Linked DNA regions of Homo sapiens: region 1 is linked to region 2. Evidence: promoter capture Hi-C in 16 types of primary human blood cells and fetal thymus (Javierre and others, 2016). All regions are on one chromosome and are shown on one strand. Each heading gives the region's core, a stretch centred on a gene start or on the middle of the fragment in contact. The rest is flanking DNA. Distances are from core to core; before and after follow the strand shown.

Region 1 (6,212 bases), core at 1,817-4,316, 290 kb before region 2:
TCAAACTCCTGACCTGAGGCGATTCCCGCCCACCTTGGCCTCCCAAAATGCTGGAATTACAGGTGTGAGCCACCGCACCCAGCCCACACTCACCTTTCTTCACATACCCCCACCCCCAAGGTCTTTCACTTTTTTTCTGTGCTTGAAATTTTTTTAACATACATATTATTTTTAAAAATAAATTATATAACACACACACACACTCAGAGGTCTCACTCTGTCACCCAGGCTGGAGTGCAGTGGCTGAATCATGGGTTACTGCACTCTCAAACTCTTAGGCTCAAGTGATTTTTCCACCTCAGCCTCTCAAGTAGCTGGGACTATAGGCATGCAATACCACACCTGGCCAATTTTAAAATTTTTTTGTAGAGACTGAGGCTTAAAATGTTGCCCAGACTGGTCTTAAACTCCTGGGCTTAAGTGATCATTTCACCTTGGCCTGCCTCCCAAAGTGTTTGGATAACAGGTGTGAGCCATCAAGCCCAGGCAAAAAAAAAAATTTTTTTTTTTTTTTGATACAGAGTCTCGCTCTATTGCTCAGGCTCGAGTGCAGCTGCACGATCTCGGCTCACCACAACCTCTGCCTCCCGGGTTCAAGCAATTCTCCTGTCTCAGCCTCCCAAGTAGCTGGGACTACAGGGGCCTGCCACCATGCCCAGCTAATTTTTGTATTTTTAGTAGAGACGGTGTTTCACTATGTTGGCCAGGCTGGTCTCAAACTCCTGACTTTGTGATCCGCCCACCTCAGCCTCCCAAAGTGCTGGGATTACAGACGTGAGCCACCATGCCCGGCCTCAAAAATATATATTTTAAAATTTTTATTTCTTTTTGAGACGAAGTTTTTCCCTTGTTGCCCAGGCTGGAGTGCAATGGCATGATCTGGGCTCACTGCAACCTGTGCCTTCCAGGTTCAAGCGATTGTCCTGCCTCAGCCTCCTCAGTAGCTGGGATTACAAGCATGTGCCACCACGCCCGGCTATTTTTTGTATTTTTAGTAGAGGTGGGGTTTCACCATGTTGCCCAGGGTGGTCTTGAACTCCTGACCTCAGGTGATCCACCCGCCTCGGCCTCCAAAAGCGCTGGGATTACAGGCGTGAGCCGCTGCAGCTGGCCCTCAAAAATATTTTTTAAAGAACTGTTACAACCAAATAATGAGCTATGATGTGCCACTGCACTCCAGCCTGGGCACCAGAGTGAGACCTTGTCTCCAAAAACAAAACACAAAAACTTATAACAAAATTGAACTAATAAGGTTGTGTCATCTGTGTCCCCTCCCTACCCTCCAAGCTATCACTGTTAAATATAATGGGTATTGAGAAAACTGTTAGATATTATTAAAGAATTCCTATGTATCCTCCAGTTGAAAAGGTGTTCTGATGTGGCTCAAGTGCTTTCTGACCTCTACCTCCAGGGTCTAAACTAGCAAATCAAATCAGGACACCTACAGAAAACCGTTGGCCATTTTCTTTTCTTTCTTTCTTTTTTTTTTTTTTGAGACGGAGTTTCACTCTTGTTGCCCAGGCTGGAGTGCAATGGCGCGATCTCGGCTCACTGCAACCTCCGTCTCCCAGGTTCAAGCAATTCTCCTGCCTCAGCCTCCTGAGTAGCTGGGATTACAGGCGTGCACCACCACGCCTGGCTAATTGTATTTTTAGTAGAGACGGGGTTTCTCCATGTTGAGGCTGGTCTTGAACTCCTGACCCCAGGTGATCCGCCCGCCTCGGCCTCCCAAAGTGCTGGGATTACAGGCGTGAGCCACAGCGCCCAGCCTGGCCATTTTCAAATAGAAAATGAAACACACCCGTTAATGAAAGTAATCCAGTGATTTTCAAAAGGAGAAGTCAGACTGAGATGCAGCGCAGTCAGGGCACAATTACCCCAAGGATAGACGCTTCACACAAAATGCCTGAGGAGCCTTTCTAAGATGAGCACATTTGGCCAACGTAATTCATGCTTACCCATTCTCAGCCCCCTCTGCCCACCTCCCCCCCGCCCCATTCCTAATGGCCATCCCACGATGTGGTCAGCAGTGTGGTACAGCATGGTGAGAGAGGGGCTCAGGGATGGGATGAAGGTTTTTCCTGCATTATCAAAATGATTAAAAAGTTGTTAAAAAGGTGTCCAAATTTTCTTTTTACCCTAAAATAACTACTCAGATGCATTATACAAGTAGACCCAGGTAAGGGAAAGAGCAAGCGCATTTCAAGCCTCAGCTCACTTCTTAATTAGCTGTAATTCCCTGAGCAGGTGACCCTGCCTACTTCAGCCTGTTTCCCTGCCCATAAAATGCACTAATGCTGGGGAAGCCGCGCTGGGAGGTGGGTCCTGAAGCTTTATCCAATCAGTGGCGCTGGCGCGGGAACCGCCCAATCAGGCGCGGAGTTGGAGAGGAGGGCGTGGCCTCCGGCATTTGGCGGGCCCTTTGTCTCGCTCCTGCCAGAGTTTTAGTTGCCTGTCTCTGCTATTCTGCGTCCTCCACCTCGGGAGCCCCAGGTGACTTTGTCACAGCCGGTGGGTGTGCGGGTTGAGCATCCCGAGATGGGAGAGCGGCCTGTGAAACCGGCTGGACCGGCCTCCCCACAGTCCGCTCCTGGGTCGCCGACCTGAGTCCCCGCTGGCACAGCTCCGCTCCAGGCCACTCTGGCCGCAAGATGGCGGCTGGACTCGCAGCCAGGACCACAGCGTCCCGCCAGTTTCTGCGCGGCGCCAGTCCGGGGCTCTCTGGGCAGCTCTGCACCCGCAATCCCGAGTATTTCCCGGGTTGTTCAGGGAAGACAGGCGGGTCATCGGCAGAATCCCCACTCGGTGTATGCGTTGGAGGGGCTGCTGCCCGTGGGGTCTTAAGTCTTTTCTGATTATTATTATTTTTTTGTGAGACGGAGTCTCGCTTTTGTCTCCAGGCTGGAGTGCAGTGGCATGATCTCGGCTCACTGCAACCTCCGCCTCCTGGGCTCAAGCGATTCTCGAGCCTCAGTCTCCCGAATATCTGGGATTACAGGCACCCGCCACCATGCCCGGCTAATTTTTTGTATTTTTAGTAAAGACAGGGTTTCACTATGTTGGCCAGGCTGGTCTTGAACTCCTGACCTCAGATGGTCCGCCCCCCTCGGCCTCCGAAAGTGCTGGGATTACAGGCGTGAGCCACCGCGCCCGGCCACAAAGAAATTTTTCCGCCGTCCTTTTCGGCCACAAATAAATTTTTCCGCCGTACTTTTCGTATTTATTAAATTTTCTCATTAGAGCCTATTATTGATTGTAATGCATTTTTCTGTGAAATTTTGCTGCCATTCATTGAATGCCAATGATTCAGAATGCCTGCTCTGCAAGAGTACACACAGCTAAAAACTGTAGATATCTAAAGAATTATTTTTAATATCTATGTTGTATTCAGCATATTATGCGTTAAAATCTCTCTTGGCCGGGCGCGGTGGCTCACCCCTGTAATCCCAGCACTTTGGGTGGCCAAGGCGGGTGGATCACCTGAGGTCAGGAGACCAGCCTGGCCAACATGGTGAAACTCCTTCTCTACTAAAAGAAAAATACAAAAATTAGCCAGGCTTGGTGGTGGGTGCCTGTAATCCCAGCTACTCGGGAGGCTGAGGCAGGAGAATCGCTGGAATTCGGTAGGCTGAGGTTGCAGTGAGCCAAGATCACGCCACTGCACTCCAGTATGGGTTACAAGAGCGAGACTCCGTCTCAAAAAAATAAATAAATAAAATCTCTCTTATTTTTATTTCTACATTAGTGTTTCTTTTCGAGGGGGTATGTTTTTTTAGATCAGTTAATTGTATTTTTGCTTTCAAAGCTTGATATTATGAATTGAATGATAATTTTCAACTCTGTACAATTTTAGACAATGTGATGCTTAATTTATATATGAATTAGCCGTATGTCATCTATAGAAATATCGATGTGTTTTTCATCTGTGTTGCCACTACTTCGTTTATGACATACTCTTTCCATGGTTTTCAATGATTATTCTGTCTAGGTGAGTAGTCGGGAAAATAATCCTAAATTCACAATCTACTTATATTTTGAATCTGTATAATTATGTGAGAAGAACACTCTTTATTTGAAGGTAATGTTTGAAAAATGTCGTAATGTCTCTTATGTAGTCTTTAATTTTTTTTTTTGAGACTGAGTCTCTGTCGCCCAGGCTGGAGTGCAGTGGCGCGATCTTGGCGGGACTCCATCTCAAAAAAAAAAAAAAAGAGCTTCTGCACAGCAAAAGAAACTATCAACAGAGTAAACAGATAACATACAGCATGGGAGAAAATTTTTGCAAACTATGCATCCGTCGAAGGTCTAATGTCTAGCATCTATAAGAACTTAAACAAATTTACAGTAGAAAAACAACAACCCCGGCTGTGCGTGGTGGCTCATGCCTGTAATTCCAGCACTTTGGGAGGTCGAGACGTTTGGATCACTTGAGGTCAGGAGTTCAAGACCAGCCTGGCCAACATGGCGAAACCCTGTCTCTACTAAAAGTACAAAAATTAGCTGGCTGTGGTGGCATATGCCTATAATCCCAGCTACTGGGGAGGCTGAGGCAGGAGAATCGCTTGAACCCAGGAGGCGGAGATTGCAGTGAACCAAGAGTGCACCACTGCACTCCAGCCTGTGTCAAAGAGTAAGACTCTATCTCAAAAAAAAAAAAAAAAGAAAAACACCAACTCCATAAAAAAGTGGATGAAATAGGGCCAGGCTCAGTGGCTCATGCCTGTAATTCCAGCACTTTGGGAGGCCAAGGTGGGTAGATCACTTGAGGTCAGGAGTTCAAGATCAGCCTAGCCAACATGGTAAAACCCCATCTCTATTAAAAATACAAAATATCGCTGGGCACAGTGGCTCATGCCTGTAATCTCAGCACTTTGGGAGGTCAAGGTGGGCGGACCACCTGAGGTTGGCAGTTCGAGACCAGCCTGACCAACATGGAGAAACCCCATCTCTACTAAAAATACAATTAGCCGGGCATGGTGGTGCATGTTTGTAATCCCAGCTACTCTGGAGACTGAGGCAGGAGAATCACTTGAACCCAGGAGGCAGAGGTTGTGGTGAGCCAAGAGTGCACCATTGCACTCCAGCCTGGGCAGCAAGAGCGAAACTCCATCTCATGATGGTGGACACCTGTAATCCCAGCTACTAGGGAGGCTGAGGCAAGAGAATTCCTTGAACCTGGGAGGCAGAGGTTGCAGTGAGCTGGGATCCAGCCTGGGTAACAGAGCAAGACTGCCTCTCCAAAAAAAAAAAAAAAAAAGTGGGGGAAGGACATGAACAGACGTGTATCAACAATCATATGAAAATAAGCGCAACACCACTGATTGTTAAATAAATGCAAATCAAAACCACAATGAGATACCATCTCATGCCTGTTAGAAAGGCTATTTTTAATAAGTTACAGAAATAACAGATGCTGGCGAGGTTGTGGAGAAAAAGAAATGGTTATATACTGTTGGTGGGAGTGTAAATTACTTTAGCCATTGTTGAAGACAGTGTGTTGATTTTTTTTTTTTTTCTCCTGAGACAGAGTTTTGCTCTTGTTGCCCAATCTGGAGTGCAATCACACGATCTCAGCTCACTACAACCTCCACCTCCCGGGTTTAAGCGATTCTCCTGCCTCAGCCCCCTGAGTAGCTGGGATTACAGGAACGTGCCACCACACCCAGCTAATTTTTGTAGTTTTAGTAGAGACAGGGTTTCGCCTCATTGGCCAGGCTGGTCTCAAATTCCTGACCTTAGGTGATCTGCCCGCCTTGGCCTCCTAAAGTGTGGGGATTACAGGTGTGAACTGCCATGCCCAGCCTAGTGTGATGAGGAATCCTATTACTGTATATACCCACAGGAATATAAATTATTCTATTATAAATACACATGCACATGTATGTTCACTGCAGCACCATCCACCACAGCAAACACATGGACTCAACCTAAATTTCCATCAATGATACACTGGACAAAGAAAAATGTACATATATACCATGAAATACTATGGAGTCATAAGAAAAATGAGATCATGCCCCTTGCAGAGATCTGCATGGAGCTGGAGGCCATTATCCTTAGCAAACTAACACAGGAACAGAAAACCAAATACTACTTGTTCTCACTTATGAGTGACAAGTAAATAATGAGAACACGGACACGGGGGGGAATGACACACTGGGGTCTTTCAAAAAGTGGAAGGTGGGAAGAGAGGATCAGGAGAAATAATGGTA
Region 2 (6,553 bases), core at 2,684-5,183:
GCTCCTGAACTTTGAGCTACCCTCAATCTGAGCTAACTTAAAACTTCATTCTGTGCCCCTCCTAAGAACATGCTGACTTCAGGGTAAAACATTCTCTAATCTAAAATCTAACCTTTTCAATCTCCAACTGCCATTCCCTTCCCACCTTCTCTCTAATCTTTTTTGCTCCACTGTATGAAAGAAAGCCCTCGTCTGCCTAAACTTGGCAATTCTTAAAGTTTTTATAGTTGGTATTCCTCCTGTTCTAATACTTTTTTGGAATTCAAATTTTTTAAATAAATTGAACTTGGTTATACATTACAAAGTCTAGAAACTGCCTTAAAACAATAACAACTTCATCATCAGCAAGACCCTCCCAATCCCCTTTTATGTTAACCTTAACTGCATCTGCCTGTGAGCCCCCAGCTTTCCAGGACTCTGTAGCTTCTCTCAGCAGATAGGCTTCTTCCATGGCTGCAGTGAGAAGGCTGGGACATCTGCAGGAGAGACTCCCCAGAAAAAACTAACAAGGCCGTTATTAAATTTCTTCTGCAGGCTCAATATTAGCCTTAGCTCTGAGTCACTGGGACCAAGCTCTAATTTCCATGTTAAGAGTTATTCACTTGGTTGTTGAAATTAAGTGTCTGAAAAATCCAGCAAAATGCAGTGTTCATATAAGGGAAGGGAATTTTAAGGTGCTTACATTTTATACCTCAATAAGAAAAGCAAAAGTATCAGGCCGGGCATGGTGGCTCATGCTTGTAATTCCAGCACTTCGGGAGGCCAAGGCGGGCAGATCGCGAGGTTAGGAGTTTGAGACCAGCCTGACCAACATAGTGAAACCCCGCCTCTACTAAAAGTACAAAAATTAGCCGGGCATAGTGGTGCGCCTCTAATCGCAGCTACTCAGGAGGCTGAGGCAGGAGAATCACTTGAACCCGGGAGGCGGAGGTTGCAGTGAGCCAAGATGGTGCCATTGCCCTCCAGCCTGGGTGACAGAACCAGACTCCGTGTGGGGAAAAAAAAAAAAAAGCAAAAGTATCTATTTCTTTCAGACAATAAACGTATTACTTTATTAATTCCATTTAAAATTATTTTGTAAACAATGAGTCATATGGGAGCACTTCTAAACAGTACCGAGTTTCATCTCATAAAATTTAGCATAAAACTCAAAAATCAATGTAACAGGATCTGAACACAGATATTCACTGTCACAAATTTACCCTGAAAAAAAAGAAACTGATGTTTTAATGAATCTATGTAACTCACCAATTATCCACCACATTTTCTTGTGGAAATGTATTCATTTTCCAAAACTAAAATTGAGAGATTTTGCCTGGGAGCATTCTAAAAGCTAAGCCTTGAAATTCTGTTTGAAATCACTCAGCCATAAAAAAAACACACCTGAGAAAATTCCTAACTCACTCTGGGAAAAACAGTAAATGAGAATTTTTAACAAATTTTTGACAAATGAAATACATGATCAGACATTTTTTTCTGAAACCCACCTCTTTCATGACCTTTGTAAATATTTTTCTACCTTTCAAGCCCTACTAATATAATGCAATTTACAGCTAAAAAACTGAGGTCAAAATAAGTGACAAATATCTTCAAGGTGACAAACCCAGGTAGTGGCAGTGCTGATTAAATAACAGATGTGTCTGACTCATGTTTCAAGTCAGGTCATTCAATCACTGGAGAGATTCTTCCACCCACTCCTGCTCACTTATGTGCTCAAGAACCACCCACTCAGAAGACACTGCATTATGCCCCAGTGACTGCCCCAGGTGCATTTTACTTTGCAAGCTCTTACACCATCTCACTGGGGTCAGTTCTGTTGTTGTTTGTCTTTTGGAATACTTTTTGGTAACAAAATTTTCACTTTTTTTTCCAATATTTTTCTTTATATTTATTTCACTATTTTTCTGCCCCCCTTAGATGATCCAGGGAGCAGAAATTATTTTTGTGTTTCCCCTCAATACCAGCATCTGATTGGCTGACCAGCAACGTGTCTCCAAGAAATGAAAGCTGGGTTGGGTGAAGACAATTTTAATGTCTCAAGGGGTTACCTTTTCAAAATAAGACTGCACCAGAAGACTCCTCTCAGCCCCAGGGCATCCACTTGCTCCCTTGAGAGGACACATTCCATACCTCGGGTCATCCTACGGGAGAAAATAAACCAGAAGCTGACATTCACTAGGCACTTTAGCTGACAGAACCATGGCGGATATCTCGGTTTATCCACAGATAGTACTGAAACCCAGGACCAGGAAAAAACTAAAGGGTGGCTGAGGACACATCACCCCATAGATTTTTCCAAATCAAAACCTTGACCCAAAAACATTCTGATAAATCTCTGTGCCTAGAGAAGGTAAAAGGAAAAGAGACACAGAGATTTTCTACAATACAGTGTCAGAGGATTAGTCTTTGTTTCCTTTTCGTGGGAAATATTTACAAGCGGATAACACATCTTCTTAAAAGCGCCATTTAATGCTTTGTCAAAAACAATTAATTAAAATATGGTATAAACAAGTACACTAAAGGACAAATAGGTGATAATGTGAATTAGGAAGGAAAAGTTGACATTTGGGAACGCCAGAAGAAATTGGAAATTTAGTATCTTACTGCAAGCCAGAGTGAGGCTGGAGAAATGGGGGACGGGGGTTAGACTTAACAACCTGCTTGGGACACAGGTGAAAAATGCAGCAGAAAATCAGTTCCCCGTGGAGTGTGAAAATAATTAAGAGACAGGCAATTCCACTGAGGTGTCTCTAGTCCCTGGGTTCCTACTTAAAAAAAAAAAAAATCTAACTCAGGTGCATTTTTTTTTTAATTACTACATTCAGAGAAAATGTAGGCTTAAACAACTATAAACTGTTAATTAACCTCTGATTACACAACCAGGAAATCTTCACCTGTATTGTACAAATCAAGAAACTACGTTACTGTAACCAATTACTAAATTTAGTTTTCTTCATCATACATTTTATAAATGACTTTCCTTCAAGCCTCTCCCATAGACAACAAACTACAAACCATAGCTGGATACTCTATGATTCTTGAATCACTGTTTGATTAAATTCTTTAGGCCAGGCGCGGTGGCTCACGCCTGTAATCCCAGCACTTTAGGAGGCCAAGGCGGGCGGATCACGAGGTCAGGAGTTCAAGACCAGCCTGGCCAACGAGGTGAAACCCCGTCCCAACTAAAAATACAAAAAAATAAGGCCGGCCCAGTGACAGGCGCCTGTAATCCCAGTTACTCGGGAGGCTGAGCCAGGAGAATCTCCAGAACCCGGGAGGCGGAGGTTGCAGTGAGGGGAGATCGCGCCACTAAACCCTAGCCTGGGCGACAGAGCGACTCCGTCTCAAACAAACAAAAAAATCGTTAATATTTGTGCAGTGACTCCCATACATTTTTAATAGGAGAAAAGAGGAACTGGGAAAGCCACGGACCAAAGATCTTCCCATTCATGAACCCGCACCCCGAGTCAGGATTTTCCCCTGACGACCCTCCCGTGGTCCCTGCACAATCTGAGAGAGACGCGGCGCTGCGGGTGCAGAGCTGCCAAGAGAGGGCTCCAGGCCAAGGCACAGTCACTACGCAGGGAAGAGAAAGGACGCCTGGGGTCCTGGCTGTCAGCGCAGCCGCCATCTTATGGCCGAAGGGGACGGAGGCCGAGCTGGGCAAGGCGCAGATTGTGAAGCTGACTGCGGAGAGGCCTGAGTCCCGCCACAGCTACTTCCCACCAGTTCCAACCAGCCCTTTCGCCGTCTCTCGGGATGTCGGACCGGGCACTCTCACCATTTCTAGGCTTCTAGGGGGTCCTGGCGTCTTAGCTGTGGATCTCCCAATATCTGCAGGTCAGAGGGCCACACAGGCTAGGCCCCTAGGAGCAGAAGACACAGAGAAGTGAGAGCAAAACCTGGAGCTCCGGCTACAGCGAGAGACAAAGACCCCGCCAAACCCGGAAGCCGTCCAGTCCGCTCCAGCTGCATGCCTGATTGGACGGTTTCCAGCCCAGCGTCCCTGGTTGGATAATGCTTAAATCCCCGCCCTGTCAGGCTTTGAGTGACAGAAGATGTGATCAGATGCGGGTTCAATGAAGAAAGAGTGACAGCCTAGACTGCCCCCTCTTCTGACAGGGCTTCCTCCCTCAGCTGAGCTAGGCCCATCCCAGAGAGTATTTGCCTTTAAATTTGTGTATAAGGTCATATGTATAAATAAATAATACATTATATAGCTATACACAAGTGAAAAGAATATAACAATTATTTTAAAATTTCAGCTTTTATGACCTTCCTGGCTTCTGGCCCTTTGAGCAGGCAGCCTGAGATTTTAGAAAAGAGAAAATCATCTAAAATGAATGTCAGCCACATGTGGATTTGAAATTTTCTAGTAGCCAAACTTTAAAAAGAAACAAGTTGAACTGATTGTTAACAATGTAATTCACCCATTATATTCAAAATATTATCATTTTAATGTGTGAGAAATATGTAATTATTGATAAAATATATAAATATTTGGAACTAAATCTTTGAAGCTGACTTTGTATTTTACCTTTCTAGCATATCGCATTTCAGACCAGGCACATTGTGGGAACCCAGTAGCCACACATGGACAATAGCTGTCACATTGAAGTGCAGCTCTGATGTCAGCGGTGTGAAGGGCCTGAACATCTCTTTCCTGCGAGAGTGAAAGAAGAGACTCTCCCTACAAACATCTCTCTTTGGTTCCTAGGGTGGACCAGATAGTTCCCATAGAAAGAGCTGAGGGCAGTAGGAATAAAATAGCCACAGGTAATAAACAACTGCTGGCCACCTGTTGCCCACCTTTCTTTTAGAGACCAGATAGTGAACAAAGGATGATGGGGCCACAGGAGAAAAAACAACTATGTCTTCAGTTCTGTCCACACACTTGAACTCCAGTATTTAGAGATGGAGAAAATAGATTAAAAACAAACATAGTTTGCTATATGGTCTTGGCCCTAACAATCAGGCTGTGTTTATCTGTTTTCTCCTGTGGTGTGGGGGACTATGTGAGTCTAAGCACCAATCACACGCATACATGTCTACAGGTATTTCTGCATTACCCAAAATTCTCTTACAAAACATCGAACTTTAAATCAGGGGAAGAAATCAGTACCTAGAGGGTGTCCACTGTTAGAAGCCAACTCTTAGTCAACCTGTCACTGAATCCTGGCAACTTATCTGTACTGGGTGCATGTATTAGTTAGCTATTGAGGCATAACAAATCATCCAAAACTTATTAGTTTATAATTGAAATGGTTGGCCATTTAGGCCGAGCTGAGTGGGGCCATTCTTCTGGTCTCAGCTGAGCTCCTTCAGACATGTATCATCACCTGCTTTTTGACTAGACAGCTGTGCATCTGGGGGTGAGCTTCTGCTCCTGGGTCTGTCAACAGGGGCACCTTGCTTCTCCTCTTCATGGTATCTTATTTTCCAGCTGGCTAACATGGGCATTATTCATGGAGATGGCAGCATTCTAAAAGAAAAAGAGAAGCAGTCAATACCATTTGAGCCTGGGCCCCAAACTGGCCCACTGTCATGTTCACAGGTTTCTGTTGACCTGAGCAAATAAGGTCAGCCAGATATAGGGCTTTGAAAACAGATTCCAGATCTTGATGGAAACAGCTGTAAAAGCACCTGGTTATGGGCAAAGATACAAGAGGGATGAAAAAATGTCATTTTGCAATCAGTATCATTCTACCTTTTTTGCATATGTGGTATATAGAACTCTTCCACATCAGGAAACTTGTGCAAAGTCCTACGGCTACTAAGTGGCTGGGCTGAGACTCAGGATCAACTTTATCTGACTCCAAAGCCCATGCACCTCCATAGATGACACTACTAAAGTAGCTGCCCTGCCCTAGACTATTGAAATCCTGGAGAGTGACACTTCCATAGTAGAAGTCAGATTCCTTTTAGATTTGTGCTCATTTGGGAATAATCCTCACAAAAATTGCAGAAGCACACGGTGGCTCTCACCTGTATTTTTAGTACTTTGGGAGGCTGATATGGGAGATTTATGTGAGCTTAGGAGTTCCAATGCAGCCTGATCAACATAATAAGATTCTGTTTCCATGACAAAAATGAAGAAATTAGCCACCCATGGTGGTGCATGCCTATAGTCCCAGATACTTAGGTGGCCGAGGCAGGAGGATTGCTTAAGCCTGGAAAGTCAAGGCTGCAGTGAGCTATGAGTAGTTACACCACTGCAATCAAGACTGGGTGACAGAGTGAGTCCCTGTCTCAAAAAAAAAAAAAGAAAGAAAAAAATTGGAGAAGCATTTTGAAAAGATATAAAATAATTTGGGGAAATAACTGAAGGATGAGTTTAGAAAATCAAAGACCAACAACACATTATTTATTTTTCATCATAGAAAATAGTTGAAATCCATTAAAAGGAAAAATCTTTAGAGAAATTAATAAATTTTTTAAATTTATTTTTTATTTTTGAGATGGAGTCTCGCTCTGTCACCCAGGCTGGAGCACAGCAGTGCGATCTTGGCTCACTGCAACCTCGGCCTCCCCAGTTCAAGCGATTCTCCTGCCT

What was found. The method cuts DNA at HindIII sites, captures the fragments that hold promoters and counts their contacts. A CHiCAGO score of 5 or more calls a contact.
Region 1: a fragment that was not itself captured here is called in contact with the fragment with the promoter of ZNF100 in region 2 in 1 of 17 cell types (monocytes); the score reaches 5.3 in monocytes.

What each region holds. Positions count from the first base shown.
Region 1 is chr19:21,472,420-21,478,631 of GRCh38, forward strand. No RefSeq gene overlaps it. Among named protein-coding and RNA genes, the nearest start is that of LINC00664, 8.2 kb to the right of the region's middle. RefSeq lists an enhancer at 2,076-2,729. The HindIII fragment of the contact is 1,474 bases long and covers 2,330-3,803 here.
Region 2 is chr19:21,763,646-21,770,198 of GRCh38, forward strand. It overlaps ZNF100 (zinc finger protein 100), which reads right to left and starts at 3,934. Exons shown (of 5, transcript NM_173531.4): 1 at 3,782-3,934; 2 at 2,049-2,141. The coding sequence starts at 3,784. RefSeq lists a silencer at 3,921-4,098. The HindIII fragment of the contact is 10,466 bases long and covers 1-6,553 here.